Regions from separate parts of the Homo sapiens genome. Here all the other regions are linked to region 6. The links are contacts of gene promoters, found by promoter capture Hi-C in blood cells and fetal thymus (Javierre and others, 2016). All regions are on one chromosome and are shown on one strand. The core of a region is centred on a gene start or on the middle of the fragment in contact, and the rest is flanking DNA. Distances in the headings are between cores, read along the strand shown. Region 1 overlaps RNGTT (RNA guanylyltransferase and 5'-phosphatase). Region 2 overlaps RNGTT (RNA guanylyltransferase and 5'-phosphatase). Region 3 overlaps RNGTT (RNA guanylyltransferase and 5'-phosphatase). Region 4 overlaps RNGTT (RNA guanylyltransferase and 5'-phosphatase). Region 5 overlaps RNGTT (RNA guanylyltransferase and 5'-phosphatase). Region 6 holds the start of LINC01590 (long intergenic non-protein coding RNA 1590). Region 7 overlaps RNGTT (RNA guanylyltransferase and 5'-phosphatase).

Region 1 (2,700 bases), core at 60-2,559, 1.4 Mb after region 6:
ACAAAAGCAAAAAAAAATTTTTTACCCATTTTTATAATAAAAAAAATTAAGAAAAAGGTTACAAATCAACGACCTCAACTTCCACTTTAAGAAAGTAAGGAGAACTGTAAAGAATTTCATAATCTCAGATATAAAAAATAGCCAGTTGGGCTGAGATAGTGTACACAATAAAAACAACTTCTCCCCTCCTAAGGCTAAGACCGGACTTCACTGAAGACGGAACAGCCATAGCTCACTGGATGGTGAAGCTGATGAAATGTCCCAGCTGCCTTTAAAGATGGAAGTTGTATCAAAGCAGTATGTCCAAATTTAGCATACTGAGTAATAGGTAGGAATGAATTTCCAAATTTCAAAATTAAGTCGCTGAGATGAAAATTTCAAAGAAATTGAGAGGCCAAGGTTGTAAGTCAAACCAAACATTGGGAAGTGTATTCAGCAACGATGATGGGCAGCCTTTGAGAGAAGAGTCTGTCAGGCACAGTCTCCATGAAAAAAAGGAGTTAGCAAAAAGTCAAAAAGAGAGTCTCAATGTGCTTAAAATAGCACGACTTGAAAAGTCAGGTTTTATTTAATAATTTAAATAACAGATATAATTTTAAACTCACTTTGATATTCTTTTGTGTCTGATATTACATTCAAAAAATAACCTACTGTTTCTTTTTCTCCTTTTCTATATATAAAGTAAAACTTATTCATGAGTTGCACTGGTATCCTAATGTAAGAAGTACTAAGCTAAGTTTTTCATAGATAATTCACTGGTTGATTAACATCCCAATAAAAATACAATTGCATGCAGTGTTCATGAGATAGATATTTCCTGACTGCCTTCCAATGCTAGAAACCAAGCCAGCATTAGGACATGCTAATGGGATATGAGGACCCAATAACAACATAAGCCTTGGCCAATGTGCCTAAATAATACCTTAATTTCAATTTGACAGTAAAAACATTTAAATGTGATGACATAATTACAATTTCTCCTTGTCAATCTTTCTTCAGAAACGTGGTTCTACTTAAATTACCCTAGATGTTTTTAAAACACTTCTAACAAATAAAAGAATCTTAATTTAGAAATGGTTAATTGAAAAATCTTGGAGAAATTTAAAGTGGAATATCTGGTCAATCACCCTAAACTAGGATACAATCCTTTTCAGAATTACAATTTTCTTGATAATTTTCCCTCCAGACAAAATTCGAAGATAATTGGATGAAAAGTAAAACAGTAGACATTATATATCAATTTTTAATAAAGCATGATACTTTTCATAAGGTTTTTCCTATAAAACTTAAATTTGCTTACTTATGAACATAATCTTATCTTTGAATACCATCTGAAATATCCTACAGAGGGCATGTAGCATGGACCAAAGATTGGAGGAACTGACAAAGGTTACCATATGATTGACTCTGAGTTGATGTTTTATGTCTATGAATCATGATGTAACCGAAAACCAAGTTGTTATAAATGCATAAGCAGAGAAACATAATGCAAAAGGCTTGACATTAGAAACATGAGAAATAAAATAGAAACTGCAAAGTTACAAAGCATAGAAAGGAGCCTTTTAAAAATAATAAGCAAAATGACAGCTTAAGACTACAGTGAAGAAGAAACTCAATCTCCAATGTTATTAGAAATACGAATTGGCAATATCAATTCATTATAGTATGGAAAATATACCAATGGAATACTTAAAAAAGAATAAACTACCTCCACCTTTCAGTTCTGGTCTATTCTACTCAGACATCTTCTGAGCAGATATTCCCACAAAGCCTCAACTCATTGCCTGAGAATACTCAATATAGTAACTTCTATCTCTTGACTCTTTTATGTGCTTTCATAACTCCCCACAAATCCAAGGTTTAGTTTTAAAACCCCCCCAAAAATGGAAATTTGCACTCCCCTGGATACTAATCTTTATTGGTTTTCAATCCCAAATTCTAACTTCTAGTTCAGGTTAGGATTATTCAATGCTTCTGTACTCTGAATGTCCTTCTAATCAGTAAATAATAATCCTACAAGTCATCCTTCTTGCTCATCACAAAGCCAACATCATTATCTTCTTTTAAAAAAGAATGACTTGATTGCCACTATTTACCAATAGTGCCTAAACAACTATGTCATTCAAGTTAGCTAATCAAAATATAAATCGCTTTTGCAATACTATTGTTGGCTCTTTCATTAACCAATATTATTGCAATTAAAAAGAGGCATAATAATTCTGGTGAATCCTATTTGACAAGTTAGAAAATCTCAAACAAAATTTCTCTAGAAAATATACCCTCTTAATTTTGGTTGCCGTTAGTCTTATTTTTACCAAAATCCCTTCATAGATCCACAAAGAAGTAGTCAACCACATCCTCATGGAACAATAAAAGTTCTTTTCATCAGATTTCTAATTATTCTTTTTTATTTCATAATTTAGGCATCATTCACTCATTCAACAAACATTCACTTAGTACCAATAAGTGACAACCACTGTGTTAAGTGTTTGAGATGTAAAAGAGTTTACTCCATGTCTATCTTGGAAGAGCAGGTGGCAGGGTCTAGTGGGGAGACCCCAAACTCAAATGTCTATACGTGCCAGGCCATAACCTGAACTGGACAGGGTATACAGTAAGACGGACGCGTGAGACCAACTGGAGAAGACATCCTCATCTACAAGCAGTCAAATTCAACATTGTTTACATATCATATGAGAT
Region 2 (2,701 bases), core at 48-2,547, 1.3 Mb after region 6:
GTTAAATCCAACAATGTATAAAAAGAATTGTACAGTACCCTAAGAAGGGGAGAGTGTAACTTTTCAGTGTTTAAGTGTAGGCTTCACATAGTGATTTCCTTCCAAAGAGTACAGTATGAAAAGGAGGAAGAAATGGGTTATCTTTAAAATGGAGAAAACTCACAAACCCTACTTTAGCCAGGTGGTCAAGGTCAACATCAAAAATCATAAAATCATGTTCATAGTATGTACTCTTGATACAGTGTGATAGAAATCGCACTTCATCTGTGATCTTCTTTCCCTAAACCCATACCCCAAGTCTGATTATGAGAAAAACAAGAGACAAATTCTAAATGAGGAGCATCCTATAATACATTTGAGCAGTGCTTCTCACAACTGGCAATGTCATTAAAAACGCGGAAAGTATGAGAAAATGTCACAGCCAAGAGTACCCTAAGGAGATATGACAACTAAATGTAATGCAGTATTCTAGATGGGATCCTGGAAAAGAAAAAGGACATCAAGTAAAAACTAAGGAAATCTGAATAAGCTACAGACCTTAGTTAAAAATAACACACCAAGTCTGGCAAACATGTGAAACCCTGTCTCTACCAAATAATACAAAAATTAGCTGGGCATGGTGGCACATGCCTGTAAGTCCTAGCTACTCAGAAGGCTGAGGCAAGAGAATCTCTTGAACCTGGCAGGCAGAGGTTGCAGTGAGCCAAGATGGCACCACTGTACTCCAGCCTGGGTGACAGAGTGAGACCCCGTCTCAAAACATAAATAAATAAATAATAACATACCAATATTGGTTCATTAATTGTAATAAATGTGCCATGTTAATAATAGGGTACACTGTTTGTGGGGGGCCCAAGAGGTGTATATGGGAACTTTCTGTTCTATTAATATCTACTCAATTTTTCTGTAAATTTAAAACTGTTCTGGAAACTAAAGTCTATAAATAAAATACACACACACACACACACACACACACACACCCCTTCCAAAACAGGAAGAAATAATGCATTCACATAAAAGAAATTTTAAAATGAATGATGTATAAATAATTACTAAATTAAAATTCTTAATGTAAAATAATTATATCTTAAAATTATTCCTTACTTTAGAAAACTGACACCAATTTATACTTTATGTTATTAATGTATGTGATGCAATTATATAAAGAAGATAAAAAAACTTTCTCAAATTTTCACTGTAGCCAACAGAAATCATTAAAAAGCTTGATTAAATGAGATAATGTATATAAACTACATACAAGGGAAATCAAGCATATTAGAAGCATTAAACACACAAATGATACTATTCTTATTATTAACAAGCTGGTAAGACAAAAGGTGAAGCAAATTTATGGAACCAAGAACTCTTCTAAGAAGCTTATTAAATTAGAGGATTCTTCATGTTGGGCCAATACCCAGCAATTCACAGTTTAAACACTTCCAGCTGGTAAGTGTTTTTTTGAGGCAAGCAAGGGAAATGAAGAACAAAGGGAGAAGGCAAAACTAAGAGAAAACAGCTTTCCTGTAACACTAAAGAAATTCAAAAGCATCATTAAATAAATACAGAAACACAGAAAAACATCACTGGAATAATAGAGCAGAAAAATTTTAAGTAAACTTATGTTTATGTATGAAAACAAGAAAGTAATTAGAGAGCTTTTGCTTTTAGGAACTATTTTCTAACATGTGACAAAGACAGGCTCAAAAAATATCTCATCACATACAGAACAGATTGAAAATACTTTAAAATGTTAAAAATGTTTATAATTCTGTCAGTTCAAATTTCACACTTTGGAATTAGGATATATTTCTCCCGTGTAACTGGTGTGAAAAAAATTATATATATATATATATATATATATATATATATATATATATATATATATATATGTTAACACATGCTCCATTTATCTAAACTAACATTGTTTAATTTTATTATACCAAGCAAATAGAAAATTTGAACTACTATATGAAGCTCCCATGAGGATTTATCCTTTAGATATAATTTATGGAATAGCAGAATTAATTTTTTAAAGTAATACATAAAATATGTCTACTAATTAATACCATCTTAGAGGAATCAATAAAATTCATTTATCAGTTATCTTCCATTCTGCTGACACCAAAGATATCATCCTACTCTTCTTCCAGAGAAACAAATTTTTCCTAAAATCACAATGTTCCTTTTTCAGAAGCAGGAAGAGAAAATTCTAAGAGAAGAAAGTAAAGGAATTCTGTGAAACAAGTAGGAAAGAATACTCAGGAGAAAGCAAGAGGGCTACTCTAGAGTTTACACCTGCTCAGAAAGGGAACAGCAGAATTAAAAGCGATCAAAAAATGAAAACGGGATCAGGCATGGTGGCTCATGCCTTTAATCCTAGCACTTTGGGGGGGCCGAGGCAGGAGAATCGCTTGAGCCCAGAATTTGAGACCAGCATGGACAACATAGTAAGACCTCGTCTCTACAAAAAATTAAAAAATTAGCCAAGCATAGTAGCACACACCTGTGGTCCCAGCTACTCGAGAGGCTGAGGTAAAGAGGATCACTTGAGTCTGGGAGGTCAAGGCTGCAGTGAGCTGTGATCAAATCACTGCACTCCAGCCTGGGTAACAGACACCCTGTCTCAAAAAAACAAAAAAACAAGAAAGGAAAGAAAGAGAAAAAAGAAAAGAATAAGAATAAGATGCAGCCATAAAAATGA
Region 3 (2,727 bases), core at 76-2,575, 1.5 Mb after region 6:
AAGCTTTGCCTTGGATTATGTTTCAAAAGGAATTTAAATCAACAAAAGGGAAGATCAAATAAAAAGCAATGATGACATCATCTGCAAAAATGGCATGGAAGACACACAACCCATCATGTTGTTAAGGACTTAGGCTGGCATTTTGCAAAGCTGATATTCACCAAAAGGGTATTTCAAGGCAAATAAGTTAGGAAACCACTGTATCTTTCTCTTAGAACGTCAAGATATATATTAGGATATTTAAAGTTATGATAAAATATATAAATAAATCTGTTCATCTTATTTAGTCCATTGTTTCCTAAACTTAATCCTGATATCTGTTAAAATTTGACAGAATTGGTATTCTATACTTACAATTTGAGAAAAGCTGACTTAAGCTAATAAATGTTAGAATTCAGAAAAAAGAAATGGTTTACTCTTATGATCATGTAATAATGATAACTGAAATTATATTTCCCCTTTCACTGACTGCCCAGAAGTTGAGAATTTTAAATTTAATGTTTAAACACAATAGGTATTATCCCAGGGTGAAGATGTATTTATTTTACACACACACACACACACACATCTTAGTATCAGACCTTTTCTTTTAAATCAAGTAGAGTATCAATCAAAAGAAAATATTTTCTATGCACACATGTGTATAAACAGATTTAAAAGACTAAGGAAGAAAAAGCTTTAGAGGACGGGATTTACAAAAGGATAGCTTCTGCATCTGCAGAAACACCAGAGAAATTATTTAGCACTTGGTATTTAGGGATTCTTCTGCACACATAAATTTTCAGGCTTTGGAACACAAGTTCCTGAGCTATGATTTTTAGTTTGAACTCCAGTCATTCCAAATCATATGTTCTTTTGTTATGCGATACTAACAAAAAGTAAGGAGCTATTTCATGTAAGGAATGTGGAAATATTTCCACATCACTCCAAAGTCCCTGAAAGCAGCCAGATTCTTTAAAAAGAAGCAACTACCTCACAAACTGTCAGATACTGCCTTAGTATATAACTATGATGCAATATAATTTCTTATTAATTAGGAAATTATCTCAACTGCAAATTTAATATTCAGAATTATCAATAGGTATTTGTATTATATTCATTCATTCCCATTAAAAGGCAAAATTTAATTCAGTATACGTTTCCCAGATAGAAAATGCTAAAGTATATAAACCAAAGGTATATGGATTACAGAAAAGCCAGATGTATAGACTACTTTACTGTAAATGCAGGTTTTCTACCAAAACTGGAAATAATCTTTCAGAGCAGTTGCTGAGATGTGAGATATATAATTAAGTAAAACAACCAAATATACATTAATAAAATTAGGAAGTACATAATTAAAGAGAAGGAAAACTGACAGAAAACAATGGTAACTAATACCACCTTAGAGTCCTAATTCACATTCCTCCCAGTAGTCTGAGAGTAAAATGGTCGTTAAACTCCTGGTAATTTAAAGTTATCACCAATTTAGACCCAACTCTGATCATCAATTCAGGAATTTATCTTATACTCTATGAAGGCAGAAATCCTATCTATTTTGTTCCTTCTCACAGCTTAAGTATCTTGCACAGTCTACCTGAATACACACTAAAGGAAGGCACTCAATATTTGTTAAGCAAAGCTGTATGTACAACAAAGTTCATCATAATATTTTATAACAGTGAAAGGATAAAAACTCAAATGTCCATCATTCAGCAAATAGGTAAAATAAATATTGCATATTCATGTAAAAGCATACTAGTCAAGCATTTTTTAAACAATGATAAAAATATTCATTAATATGGAAAGAGATTTACAATATATTTAGTGGGAAAAAAGCAAGTTTAAAACCAGAATACATTAAATAATTACAGAGGAAAGGAGGAGGACAAAACTGTATGTATATCGTAAATATAGAGTAAAGCCTATACCAAAATAGTAAGAGCTGCCCCATCTCTATGTATTAGAATTATCAATGATATTTGCTTTCCTCATTAAGCTTTTCTGTACTTTCAAAATTTTTAGAAATAAACACAAATTGCTTTTAGACACAGGGGGCAAAATTAAAGCTTTACAAGGGGGAAAAAAGCCACCAAGCCAGAAATGTAGTCTATAATCAGACCCAGAGAAACATTTTCCCTTTGCAAAGTGGCAATGAATTAAGACAGGATTCTAACCCTTGTTCTTTGTACCACAGTGGCTTCAAAACAACAGATATTCCTCTTCTTCTGTCATACAGCCTCCATACTAGAGCATTTTGATGGGCAATAAAAACAGAAAAGCTGATCATTTACATTGATTTATTTCACCACCATCTCTATCTCTATCCATTTTTCCTAGCCCCTATCAAACTTATTATGGCTTTTCTCTTAAATTTTTTAATCAATTATTTTTTAAAATATAAGTTAAAGGGCCGACCTGGAGCCAGTCTAGATGCTAGGCAGTACTAGATGCTAGGGTTATAACAGCAAATGGCACAGACTCTCTTCTCAACTTCACATCATTTACACTCTTAAAAAGAAAACAAGATATTAAATAATTCCAACCATAATACATATTAGAACAGTGAAGAAGAAGCTATTACAGGAGCCTACAAAGGTAGAGCCTGTCAGAGTTTGGAGATCATGGAAGGCATTCCAGAGGAATTCATGCATAGCTGATAATAACAACAGGTTACACTTACTGAGCAATTACTATGTTCTGAAGAAAAGAGCACTTTTATTAACTCATTTATTAACTCATTTAATC
Region 4 (2,801 bases), core at 190-2,689, 1.5 Mb after region 6:
TTGATTCAATACAACTCACATTGATTGAGTGCCGACAGCATTCTAAAACTAACATGTCACTATAAACTCTTTTACTGTCACTCTGCTCACTTTTCAATTTCACCAAGACTAACAGTCCCTTCATTTCTCCTTTACATATTCTAACAGCACCCTCATCCTGACCTTACTTCCTATTCAGCCTAGAACCTATGGCTGATTACTTCAATTATTTTTCCTCTGACAGCCTCAGTGCCCCTTACCCTCTTGTTCTTCATCACACCCAAACTGAATTTCTCCAGCCTTGAGTCAACCTACCGTTAGTCTTTTCCACTCTCATACATAGGCAGCTGAAACTTACTGAGGAAAAAATCACAATCTCAATTACATCTCCAGTACTAAGAAAGATATTTCCCTCCTATTGCTGAAGACCTATTACTCCAAAAACTGCATTTGACCTCCATTCCCTTGCACTTCCTCAGAGATTTCTCTATCATTATTCCCCAAATCTTTACTTTCAACTTCATTGACTTCACTAGCTCCTTATCCACACTAATAAATATGCTTGAATTTATCCCATACTAAAAAGCCTTTTCTGACTATGTCTGCATCAATTACCCTTCTGCTCCTTTTTTTATCATAACCAAGCCACTTGAATGAATAGTTTATAGTAGTGTGCAGAAAAGGGTTAACCTAACACTAGTGCTTGCAAAGTTGGCTCCTGAATGGCACCTGAGAACTTGACTTTTGGAGTGTTCTCAGTCAACTGATAAGGATGGCTCACCAAACCTAGATTACTTGTCCCAAAAATACAGTTTATGCTGAATAAATTTTTTTCCTCCTGGAATCCTGGAATTTTGCTACATGCTAAGCACAGAGTGCCTACATGACCGGCCATCAATAAAAATCTTGAGCAGTGAGAGTGTAATGAGCTTCCATGGACAGAAACATCACAAATACATTGCTGCAGGAAGAGTGAGCTCAGGATGACCCCTCATGAGAAAAAGAGAGCACAAGAAAGCCTACACATTAACTCCCCCCAGACTCTACTTGTCTTTGTCTCTTATGATTGAGCTGTATATCCTTAGTACGTTGCTGTATAAATCTGAGTTATGAGTACAACCATATGCTGAGTCCTGAGTTATTCTAATAAATCTCCAGAAGTGAGGGTGGTACAGGGAACCCCTAACACAACTCAGTCTCCACTTTCTCGCCTTCCATTAGCTTCTTAAAATTACCAGTCTGACCCAGCCCTACTGCACCACAGAAAATAATCCTCAGATAAATACTTTCCGTCCTTATTGAATTTTGTCCTCTCCATGAAATCATACTGTTAAATTGCTCCCTTTAAGTTAATTCTAAACTATTTCTCATATTTTACATTTCTTTTGTCTTTTCATGCTGCATGCTGGAAGGATTTCATAGCTAGATCCTCTAGCTTGATAATTTCATTCTGCTACTCATCCCACATACTAAGTGGTTTTTTAATCTTATCATTTCCAAGATCTCTAATTTGTTCCTCTTCTTAATAGCCTGCTATTATTTTATGGATTGATAGCCTCTCTTGTCTTCTAAAGAAAGGTTCTATTTGCTTTCTCAAATAGAAAAATTTTTAATTTTTCCTTTCTTAGTATATCTAGTATTACTTTTATATAGGACTTAATTTTTACAATATATAATTTTTAGTATATATACTGTGTGTGTGTGTGTATATATATATATTATATATATGTATCTCCCCAGTATATATTCTTCTACACTAAGTTATTCTTCTATACTATGTTTTCTGTGCATATGCAAAGAAATAACCAAAAAGTACAGAGCAAATGGCTTGGGAATGAAGAAATATTTTGCCTTTTAACTCTATATACTCCTAGATGTTTGCATTTATATTTTACAAAAAAAAAAAAACTCATCTTTAAGTCATCTGTGTATGTTTTAAAGCTAAATAAATAAGTAAATAGGGAAAAATTATTCTAAAAAGACAACAATACCAATGGTAGTATGAAAGTTGAAGGATTATAAGTTTTCTTTCGTTTTCAAACTTTCTTTAATAAACTAAAGATTAATGTTCTTTCATCTTTAATATATTACTTATATGAGTAAAATATTTAATAATTTTAGGATTTACTAATTATGGTTTGAAAAAAGAAAAAACTACCAAAAGGCATAAGGTTTTAGAACTTTTTTTTTTTCCTAATTCGGCCTTTGGAGGTATAAGCACAAATATTCTCAAAAATCACCAACTCATAACAGAAATCAAGACTAATTGCTTTCTCCAAAAAGAGAGAAAGAAGGTTTCGGCTTTTTTTTTTTGAGACAGCCTATCACTCTGTCACCTAGGTTGAAGTGCAGGTGAATGCAGTGACATGATCACAGCTCACTGACTGCAGTCTCAACCTCCCAGGCTCAAGCAATCCACCCCACCTCAGCCTCATAAGTAGCTGAGACTACAAGTGCACACCACCACACCTGGCTAATTTTTTAATTTTTTGTAGATACGAGGTCTCACTACGTTGCCCAGGCTAGTCTCAAACTCCTGAGCTCAAGCAATCCTTCCGCCTCGGCCTCCCAAAGTGCTGAGATTACAGGTGTGAGCAACTGCACCCAGCCTAATTAGACTAACTTTGTAGCCACAAAAAAAAAAGCTGGACAATGTTAAAGAATTCATTTGAAGACCTCAGAGAATTAGAAAGGCAATAAGGACTTGAAGGGCCAAAAACTCAGGAGGAAGGGAGGCCAGAGAGGTGAGCTAGACATCTTCTACAGCTTTTCCTTTCTAGTACTCTCCTCTAGAGGCACTGTTTCAAAAATGGTAGCTAAGA
Region 5 (2,826 bases), core at 200-2,699, 1.5 Mb after region 6:
AAACTATAAATAAATCAGAATGGCTAGAATATGAGCTGTGGTAAGAAATGCCAAATGCAGTTGGAGAAAATGAAAGGGTCAAAATCCTAAAAAAACCTGTGAAACATACTAAAGATTATAAAGGCAATGGAGATATAGTAAAGAATTTTAAGCATGGCAATAAAATTATCAGAGTTTAGAAAAACCACTCCCACGGCTGATTATAGCTCTGGCCTGTAATCCCCACCCCAGCACTTTGGGAGGCTGAGGGTGGCGGATCACTTGAGGCCAGGAGTTCAAAATCAGCCTGGCCAACATGGAGAAACCTCATCTCTACTAAAAATAGAAAAATTAACTGGGGTTGGTGGCGGTTGCCTGTAATCCCAGCTACTCGGGAGGCTGCGGCAGGAGAATCGCGTGAGCCCAGGAGGCAGAGATTGCAGTGAGCTGAGATCATGCCACTGCACTCTAGCCTGGGCGACAGAGCGAGACACCATCTCAAAAAAAAGACTGAGAATGAACCATGATGGGCTTCAAAGAACAAAAACACAGGGTCATGTATGCCAAGTAAAGGAAATTTTCTAAGTTATGAGTGCTTAGATGTCACATAATGATTAGAATGGAAAATCACTATTTGATTAAGAGTGCTAGCCAGGTGCAGTGGCTCATGCCTGTAATCCCTGCACTTTAGGAGGCCGAGGCGGGAATATCACTTGAGGCCAGGAGTTCAAGACCAGCCTGGACAACACAGTATGACCCTGTCTCTACAAAAAATAAAATTTAAAAAATAGCCAGGCATGGTGGCAAGTGCCTGTAGTACCAGCTACTCGGGAGGTTGAGGTGGGAAGATTGCTCGAGACCAGGAGGTCGAGGATGCAGTGAGCTATGATTGCACCACTGCACTCCAGCCTGGATGACTGAGTGAGACACAGTCTTAAAAAGCAAACAAACAAAAAACAGTGCTGAGGGAGGACTCCAGACTGCAACAAAGTGGATAGGAAAAAATGGATTCAAGTATAGATTCTTTTAAAAAGTCAGCTGAGAAAGGGAAGAGGGAATGCAAAACAGAAAGAAGGGTACGGGGTTTTTTTCAGCGGGAGGGGATTATTTAACAAGTTTAGGTATGTTTACAGGCTCAGGACAAGAACCTAGTTAAACCACAAAGCTTGACAATAATAGAAACGATATAAGTGAAATTAAGTTTCTGAAAGAAGAAAATAAAAAACAAAGAGATCAGCCTTGAACTGAAGACATCACTTAGAAATAAATAGCTATGACCAAGAAAATCTATAAATTCCATTATCTCCATTGCTTTGTAAGAAAAAGTGCTTCAAAAAAGCCACACAAAGATGTGCACTATAAACACATTTTTGTATTCATGTATCTTAACCCAACATGTAAATTTCCTTACTATCTTCTATTTCAGACCAATTCAAGCAACAAATATTTCAACTTTCGATGTTTCTCACCTAAGCTACTGTTTTTGTATCCAATTTTTACTCTTGCAAGATTAAATATTTTTATGAATAGGAAATGTAATAATAATTGCCAATTAGCTAATATGTCATGTGAAGATATGTAATCTAGGAAAGTACCATTTTCCTTTTAATATTCTTTATATGCAAATACAAAAAGTCTTAGTCTAATGGTTCAGTTATACATCAAAACATTTATAGATAGGGTTATAAAGTTACAAAACCATCAAAACAAACCACTATAGAAAAATGTGGGAGATTATGTATTTGATATTAAAAAATCCATTAATTAGGTATACTACAAGCTTAGATACGTCTTCAGTTTTTGTTTAAAGCAATTTTCAGTTTTCTTCATCATGAGAATGGGTCCATCTAGTGGTAAGTAAGCCACAGTTTTTAACTAAATATTAGCTCACAATTAACTATTTCAAGGCAACTTCTATTCAAATTTTTCCAGGCAAGCTAATATAATGAAATAAATGTATATGGCATTTACAATCAAACTAGGGAAAGAAACTCCCCAACAAATAGACAGAGAGATTAGCTATAGCTATACATGTTGGGGCAGTTTATAAAGGGGCTGGTGACAATGTATCTTTTTAAATAAAGCCTGATCTCAACATACACTATTTTGGAGGGTGTGGGGGGTATAGACAGGGTCTCTCTATGTTGCCAAGGCTGGTCTTGAACTCCTGGGCTCAAGAGATCCTTGGCCTTGGTCTTCTGGGATTGTAGGCATGAGCCACCACACCTGGCCCACAATTTTATTTCTATCTCACTAGCTAGATAAATTTTTTAATGCTAAAAATCCTAATTATTTGATCAGTCTAATTAGGTCAGTAGTTCTTTTTTTTTTTTTTTTTTTTTTTTTTGAGACGGAGTTTTGTTCTTTTTGCCCAGGCTGGAGTGCAATGGAGCAATCTCGGCTCACTACAACCTCTACCTCAGCCTCCTGAGTACCTGGGATTACAGGCATGCGCCACCACGCCTGGCTAATTTTGTATTTTTAGTAGAGACAGGGTTTCACCATGGTGGTCAGGCTGGTCTCAAACTCTGACCTCAGGTGATCCACCCGCCTCGGCCTCCCAAAGTGTTGGGATTACAGGCGTGAGCCACTGCACCGAGGATTCAGTAGTTCTCAACTGGGGAAGATTTTGCCCCCCAGGGGACATTTTGTAATGTCTAGAGACAATTTTAATTGTTACAATTTGTGGGATGAAGTTGAAGTCCAGCCTGAACAACATAGCCAGACCTGGTCTCTAAAAAATTATTTAATATAATACAATAAAGGCAAAAAAAATTAATGCAGTTGTTCCTCAGACTCCTCAGGGGATTGGTTCTGGGATCCCCCTCAGATACCAAAATCCTCCGA
Region 6 (2,719 bases), core at 172-2,671:
AGGGGTTGGGGGAAGGGAGGGATGATAGAGCACAGAGCATTTTTATAACAGTAAAACTATTCTGTATGATACTGTAATGGTGGATACCTGTCCTTATACATTTGTCCCAACCCATAGATTCCACGGCACCAAGAGTGAATCCTAAACTATGGACTTCAGGTGATAATGATGGGTTCATCAATTATAACATGTGCCACCGTGGTGCAGGATGTCAGTAGCCAGGGAGGTTAGGTGTGTGGGGATAGGGATAGACGGGAACTTTGTACTTTCTACTCAATACTGCTGTGAACCTAAAATTGCTCTAAAAAATAAAATTTATTAATTTTTTTAAAAGTGGGGACAAAGTCTTCCCTGGAACCTGTCACAAGACATGCCTATGACATGCTTTTGGTGTCTACATATCAAGCCAGCTTTTTTCCACTTAATTAACATCTCATATTCATTAAACAATTATTAATAAAATACCTACCATGGGATAGGCATTGTTCTAGGTACTAGGAATAAAGTAGCAAATGAAGCAGATATTTAAAAACTCAGATATTTCACATCTGGGAATCTGAATAAATTACATGCGATACAAAAAATTCTTATACTCAAATAACTCCACTGTTATTTATAATGGTGAAAACTTGAAAATATACTACATAATAGTGGGAATACTTCAGTAAATTATGACACATCCACTCAATTGCATATTATACAGCTATTAAAAATACAGCCCATAATAAGATATAAAAATGTCTGTGTTGTAATGTTGACTGTAAAGGAGTAACATAAGATATGGTAAGAATGTAGATAAGGTGAGTCATTACATGAACATGTTAACAACATTAATCCTTTGTTAATGAATCTATGGGTGGCAGATTTGTACTCCCAAATTTTCATAAAGAGCATGTCTTATTTTTATAATGGAAAATGTCCCAATAAAATATTTTTAAGCCTAGACACTTAATATTTGAATTGACTAGCCAAATCTTCATGCTTTTAATGTCGTAGGTGTGTATCTAATAATTGCTGAAGCTGGAATTTCCTTCGTGTGCAGTCAGCCACACCTCGCTATACCTGTCAAACCATCTCAATTATCCACTCCAATTGTCATGCCTCTCGTGGGTTAGTTGTAAATGGAACACAACTCTAGCATGACATTGCGACTTAAAAGAGCATATCCAGTATTTCGATGATCATTCTGGAAATATATTTCCTCTTCAAAGTTTTTACCTGTCAGTGAGGCATTTAAATTGGGGCATTCTCTTGTTTCTGAAGTCTGATAAAATCTTGACCTTAGAATATTTATTGGTAATATTTATTCATTCACAAAATTAGTTCTTAGCATATCCTATATGTCAGGCATTAGTCTAGAGCTGGGGCTAGAAAAATGAATAAGATTGGGTTCCTGACCCCAGCCCAGGCTCACACTGTAGTAAAGGGAAACAGACATGAACACTAGGTGACATGGAGTGTTAGGGGCGCTATGGTAGAAGTCTGCAGAGAGTGCAATGGGCGTCCAAATGAGGAAGTGATCACTTGCACAAGAGTGGGAGGCTTGGCTGGAAAGGCTTCTCTGAATAGGATGACATTTGATCTGTGTTTTGAAGGGCATCGTTGGCAAGGTAAGTAATCCAATTAAAGGAGGTTGCCTCAGCTAAAGCACAGTATGCTCAAAGGTGCGGATCATTTGAAAATTTGAGTTCAGGTGCAGTAGGGGTAAGGTAAGTATCCAACAGAATTTTCTACAATGATGGAAATGTTCTATATTGTCACTGTCCAATACGGTAGCCTCTAGCCACATTTGGCCAGTACAACTGAAGAATTGAATATTAACTTTCATTTAATTCTAGCTAATTTAAATTTAAATAGTTTCATCAGTTAGTGGCTACCATATTGAACAGTGCAGGTTTAGAGATAAACAGAGGCCAGTTGCAGGAGGGTCTTGCATCCCATTGAGGAGGACTGAATTTTCTTCTGCAGGGCCTTCTGTGGTCTGCAGAAAGGGCAGTACACAGGCAGTAATATTATCAGCTTTGCCTGTGGGAGTGCCCCAGCCTGGAAGCAGATAATACAGTTAGGAGATTCCCATAACCTGCCTGAGTGAGAGCATTAGTAATTAGGGAAGGAAATGGATGTGAGACTTGCTGAGAAGGGCTGGACAGGCTTAGTGACAGGTCTGAGTGTGAGGGGAGAGGGAGTGGGGGAAGTGGGATCAGGTTTGAGCCAGCTATTAAATCAATGCCAATTCATCCCATAAAGAATGCAGAGAGTGGGACAGGTTTGGAGAGTGTAAGGAACATGGCTGTGCTGTAGCCAAGCAGGCATAGGGTAGCAGGAATAGGCCGAGGTAAACAGCCTAGACATCTCAGCGGGATTGGGGTGCAAGTGCACAGTCCTGTGTCTTATATAGTCACAGCCATGTAGGCATAACATAGAGCAGCTCCCCACCTGGCTCTCAGCCACTAGTGTTTGTGTAGTGTATAAATGTAACACTGACCCTGTGAAGGGGCTGCTGAATAAAGCCATGTCTCATTTACCTGCTGTCTCTCCAGTGTTCTTCCAGCTCCCTGCCCCACATCCACCCACTGTCCTCAGACCTCAGCTGGGGCTGCACCCCAACCCTGAGTGTGACAGAGAGAAGATGAGTGTTAGAGATCATGATCCTGAAGTGCTGACGAGAAATTCAGGTGAGTTATTACTATCTTTCTTTCTTTTTCTTTTCTTTTCTTTT
Region 7 (2,787 bases), core at 28-2,527, 1.5 Mb after region 6:
TTGATGTAATGTATCATATTTATTGATTTGCATATGCTGAACCATCATTGCATCAGAGATACTGGCCTGTTTTCTCTTTTTGTTGTGGTTTTGGTATAAACATAATGCTAGCTTTACAGAATGAGTTAGAATTCCCTCCTCTTCAATCTTTTCAGGATTATTTGAGGATTGGTGTTAGTTCTTCCTTAAAAGTTTGGTAGAATTTGGTGGTGAAGGCATCCGGTCCTAGACTTTTTGTTGGGAAATGTTTCATTACTGATTAAATCTCCCTACCTGTTATTGGTCTGCTCAGCTTTTCTATTTCTTCCTGATTCAATCTTGGTAGGTTGCATATATCTAGGAACTTATCCACCTCTGCCAGGTTTTCCAGTTAGTGTATACTTGTTCATAATAGTCTTTGATGGGCCAGGCACGGTGGCTCACGCCTGTAATCCCAACACTTTAAGAGGCCGAAGCGGGCAGATCACGTGAGGTCAGGAGTTCCGAGACCAGTCTGACCACCATGAAGAAACCCCATCTCAACTAAAAAATACAAAAAATTAGCCAGGCGCAGTGGCACATGCCTGTAATCCCAGCTACTCAGGAGGCTGAAGTAGAAGAATCACTTGAACCTGGGAGTGGAGGTCACAGTGAACTGAGATCCCACCATTGCACTCCAGCCTAGGCAACAAGAGCAAAACTCCATCTCAAAAAAAAAAAATAGTCTCTGATGATCTTTTGTATTTCTGTGGTATCAACTGTAATATTCTCTTTCTCATTTCTGATTTAGTTTACTTGGGTCTTGTTTTTCTTGGTTGGTCTAGCAATGGATTTATTGATTTGGTTTATCCTTTCAAAAAAACCAACTTTTCATTTTGTTGATTCTTTGTATTTTTTTTTTTAGTGTCTATTTTGTTTAGTTCTGCTCTGATCTTTATTATTTCTTTCCTTCTACAAATTTTTGGTTTGTTCTTGCCTTTCTAGTTCCTTGTGGTGCATCATTATTTATCTGAATCCTTCTACATTTTTGATGTAGGCAATTATTGCTATAAACTTCCTTCTTAGCACTGCTTTGCTGTACTTCTTAGGTTTTGGTATGTTGTGTTTCAATTTTCATGTGTTTCAAGAGGTTTATTTCCACCTTAATTTCTTCCTTGACCAAATGGTCATTCAGGAGCATGTTTAATTTCCATGTATTTGTACAATTTCCAAAGTCCCTTATTATTGACTTCTAGCTTTTCTACCATTGTGGTCTAAGAAGGTATGTGATATGATTTTGACTTTTTTATTTGTTAAGGCTTGTTTTGTGTCCTAACATATGGTCTATCCTAGAGATTGTTCCATTTCCTCACAAGAAAAATGTGTATTCTATAGCTACTGGATGAAATGTTCTGTAAATGTCTGTTAGGTCCATTTAGTCTAATGTGCACTTTAAATCCAATGTTTGTTAATTTTCTGTCTTGACAATCTGTCTAATGATGACAGTGGGGTGCTGAAGTCTCCAACTACTATTATACGGGAGACTGTATCTCCATTTAGATATAATAATATTTGCTTTATATATCTGGGTACTCTGATGTTGAGTGCATATATGTTTAGAATTGTTATATCCTCTTGCCAAACTGATCCTTTTATCATTATATAATGACCTTCTTGATCTCCTTTTACTGTTTTTGACTTAAAGTCTGTTTTATCTGATATAAGTTTAGCTACTCCTGCTCACCTTTGGTTTCCATGTGCATGGAACACTTTTTCCATCCCTTTACTTTCAGTCTATGTGTGTCTTTACAGTTGAGATGAGTTTCTTGTAGGCAGCATATGGATAAGTCGTGTTTCTATATCCATTCGGCCAGTTTACATCTTTTAAATGGAAAGTGTAATCCACTTACATTCAAGGTTATTATTAATATGTGAAGGCTTATTCCTGTCATTTTATTAATTTCTGGTTGTTTTGTATATTCTTTGTCCTTTCTTTCTCTCTTATTGTTTCATCTTTGTGGTTTGGTGGTATTGTGTAGTGGTAACATTTGAGTTTTTCCCCCTTCATTGTTGATGTGTTTGCTCTGTCAGTGGTTTTTATTTATATTTTTGTGTTTTCATGATGGTGGTTACTAGTCTTTCAATTTCAGGTACAGGACTGTCTAACGCATTTCTTACAGGACCAGTCCAGTTGTGGTGAATTCCCTCAGCTTTTGCTTGTCTGGGAAAGACTTTATTTCTCCTTCATTTATGAAGAAAGAATAACTTTGCTGGGTATGGTATCCTTGGGTGGTAGGCGTTTTCTTTCAGAACTTTGAATATATCCTCTACTCTCGCTTGGCCTATAAGGTTTTTCCTGTGAAGTCCACTATTAGTCTAATGGGAGCTCTCTTATAAATGACTAGACACTCTTAATGTTTTTTGAATTTTCTCTTTGACTTTTAACAGTTTGACTATAACGCGTTGTGGAGAAGACCTTTTTAGATATTATCTTTTGTGGGATCTTTGATCCTCTTGGATGTCTAAACCTCTTGTTAAACTTAGAAAGTTTTAATCTATTATTTCATTAAATAGGTTTTCTAACCCTTTTGTTCTCTCTTCATCTTCTGGAACACCAAAAATTTGAATATTTGGCCACTTTCTGGTGTCCTATATCTCAAGAAGGCTTTGCTCATTCTTTTTTAGCATTTTATCTTTATTTTTGTCTTACTAGGTTACTTCCAAAGACCTGTCTTCAAGTTCTGAGATTCTTTCTTCTGCCTGATCTAGTCTATTATTGAAGCTTTGATCTATTTTCTATTTCATTCAATGAATTCTTCATTTCCTGAA

Evidence for each region. The method cuts DNA at HindIII sites, captures the fragments that hold promoters and counts their contacts. A CHiCAGO score of 5 or more calls a contact.
Region 1: a fragment that was not itself captured here is called in contact with the fragment with the promoter of LINC01590 in region 6 in 4 of 17 cell types (naive CD8 T cells, non-activated CD4 T cells, naive B cells and 1 more); the score reaches 9.2 in naive CD8 T cells.
Region 2: a contact is called between a fragment that was not itself captured here and the fragment with the promoter of LINC01590 in region 6, in 5 of 17 cell types (fetal thymus, total B cells, naive CD8 T cells and 2 more). The highest score is 7.8, in fetal thymus.
Region 3: a contact is called between a fragment that was not itself captured here and the fragment with the promoter of LINC01590 in region 6, in 14 of 17 cell types (naive B cells, total CD4 T cells, total B cells and 11 more). The highest score is 21.4, in naive B cells.
Region 4: a contact is called between a fragment that was not itself captured here and the fragment with the promoter of LINC01590 in region 6, in 6 of 17 cell types (naive B cells, activated CD4 T cells, total CD8 T cells and 3 more). The highest score is 7.9, in naive B cells.
Region 5: a contact is called between a fragment that was not itself captured here and the fragment with the promoter of LINC01590 in region 6, in 6 of 17 cell types (naive B cells, non-activated CD4 T cells, total CD4 T cells and 3 more). The highest score is 7.5, in naive B cells.
Region 7: a contact is called between a fragment that was not itself captured here and the fragment with the promoter of LINC01590 in region 6, in 1 of 17 cell types (naive CD8 T cells). The highest score is 5.5, in naive CD8 T cells.

The regions. Positions count from the first base shown.
Region 1 is chr6:88,810,048-88,812,747 of GRCh38, forward strand. The region is part of intron 11 of RNGTT (RNA guanylyltransferase and 5'-phosphatase); the gene reads right to left. Among named protein-coding and RNA genes, the nearest start is that of RNGTT, 150 kb to the right of the region's middle. The HindIII fragment of the contact is 4,264 bases long and covers 1-2,700 here.
Region 2 is chr6:88,737,890-88,740,590 of GRCh38, forward strand. All of the region lies in intron 13 of RNGTT (RNA guanylyltransferase and 5'-phosphatase), which reads right to left. Among named protein-coding and RNA genes, the nearest start is that of RNGTT, 220 kb to the right of the region's middle. The HindIII fragment of the contact is 154 bases long and covers 1,221-1,374 here.
Region 3 is chr6:88,855,872-88,858,598 of GRCh38, forward strand. All of the region lies in intron 8 of RNGTT (RNA guanylyltransferase and 5'-phosphatase), which reads right to left. Among named protein-coding and RNA genes, the nearest start is that of RNGTT, 110 kb to the right of the region's middle. The HindIII fragment of the contact is 1,302 bases long and covers 675-1,976 here.
Region 4 is chr6:88,896,989-88,899,789 of GRCh38, forward strand. All of the region lies in intron 6 of RNGTT (RNA guanylyltransferase and 5'-phosphatase), which reads right to left. Among named protein-coding and RNA genes, the nearest start is that of RNGTT, 65 kb to the right of the region's middle. The HindIII fragment of the contact is 3,959 bases long and covers 1-2,801 here.
Region 5 is chr6:88,917,408-88,920,233 of GRCh38, forward strand. The region is part of intron 4 of RNGTT (RNA guanylyltransferase and 5'-phosphatase); the gene reads right to left. Among named protein-coding and RNA genes, the nearest start is that of RNGTT, 45 kb to the right of the region's middle. The HindIII fragment of the contact is 615 bases long and covers 1,143-1,757 here.
Region 6 is chr6:87,395,703-87,398,421 of GRCh38, forward strand. LINC01590 (long intergenic non-protein coding RNA 1590) reads left to right here and starts at 1,422. Exons shown (of 2, transcript NR_026784.1): 1 at 1,422-2,675. The HindIII fragment of the contact is 8,043 bases long and covers 1-2,719 here.
Region 7 is chr6:88,936,658-88,939,444 of GRCh38, forward strand. The region is part of intron 2 of RNGTT (RNA guanylyltransferase and 5'-phosphatase); the gene reads right to left. Among named protein-coding and RNA genes, the nearest start is that of RNGTT, 26 kb to the right of the region's middle. The HindIII fragment of the contact is 2,921 bases long and covers 1-2,738 here.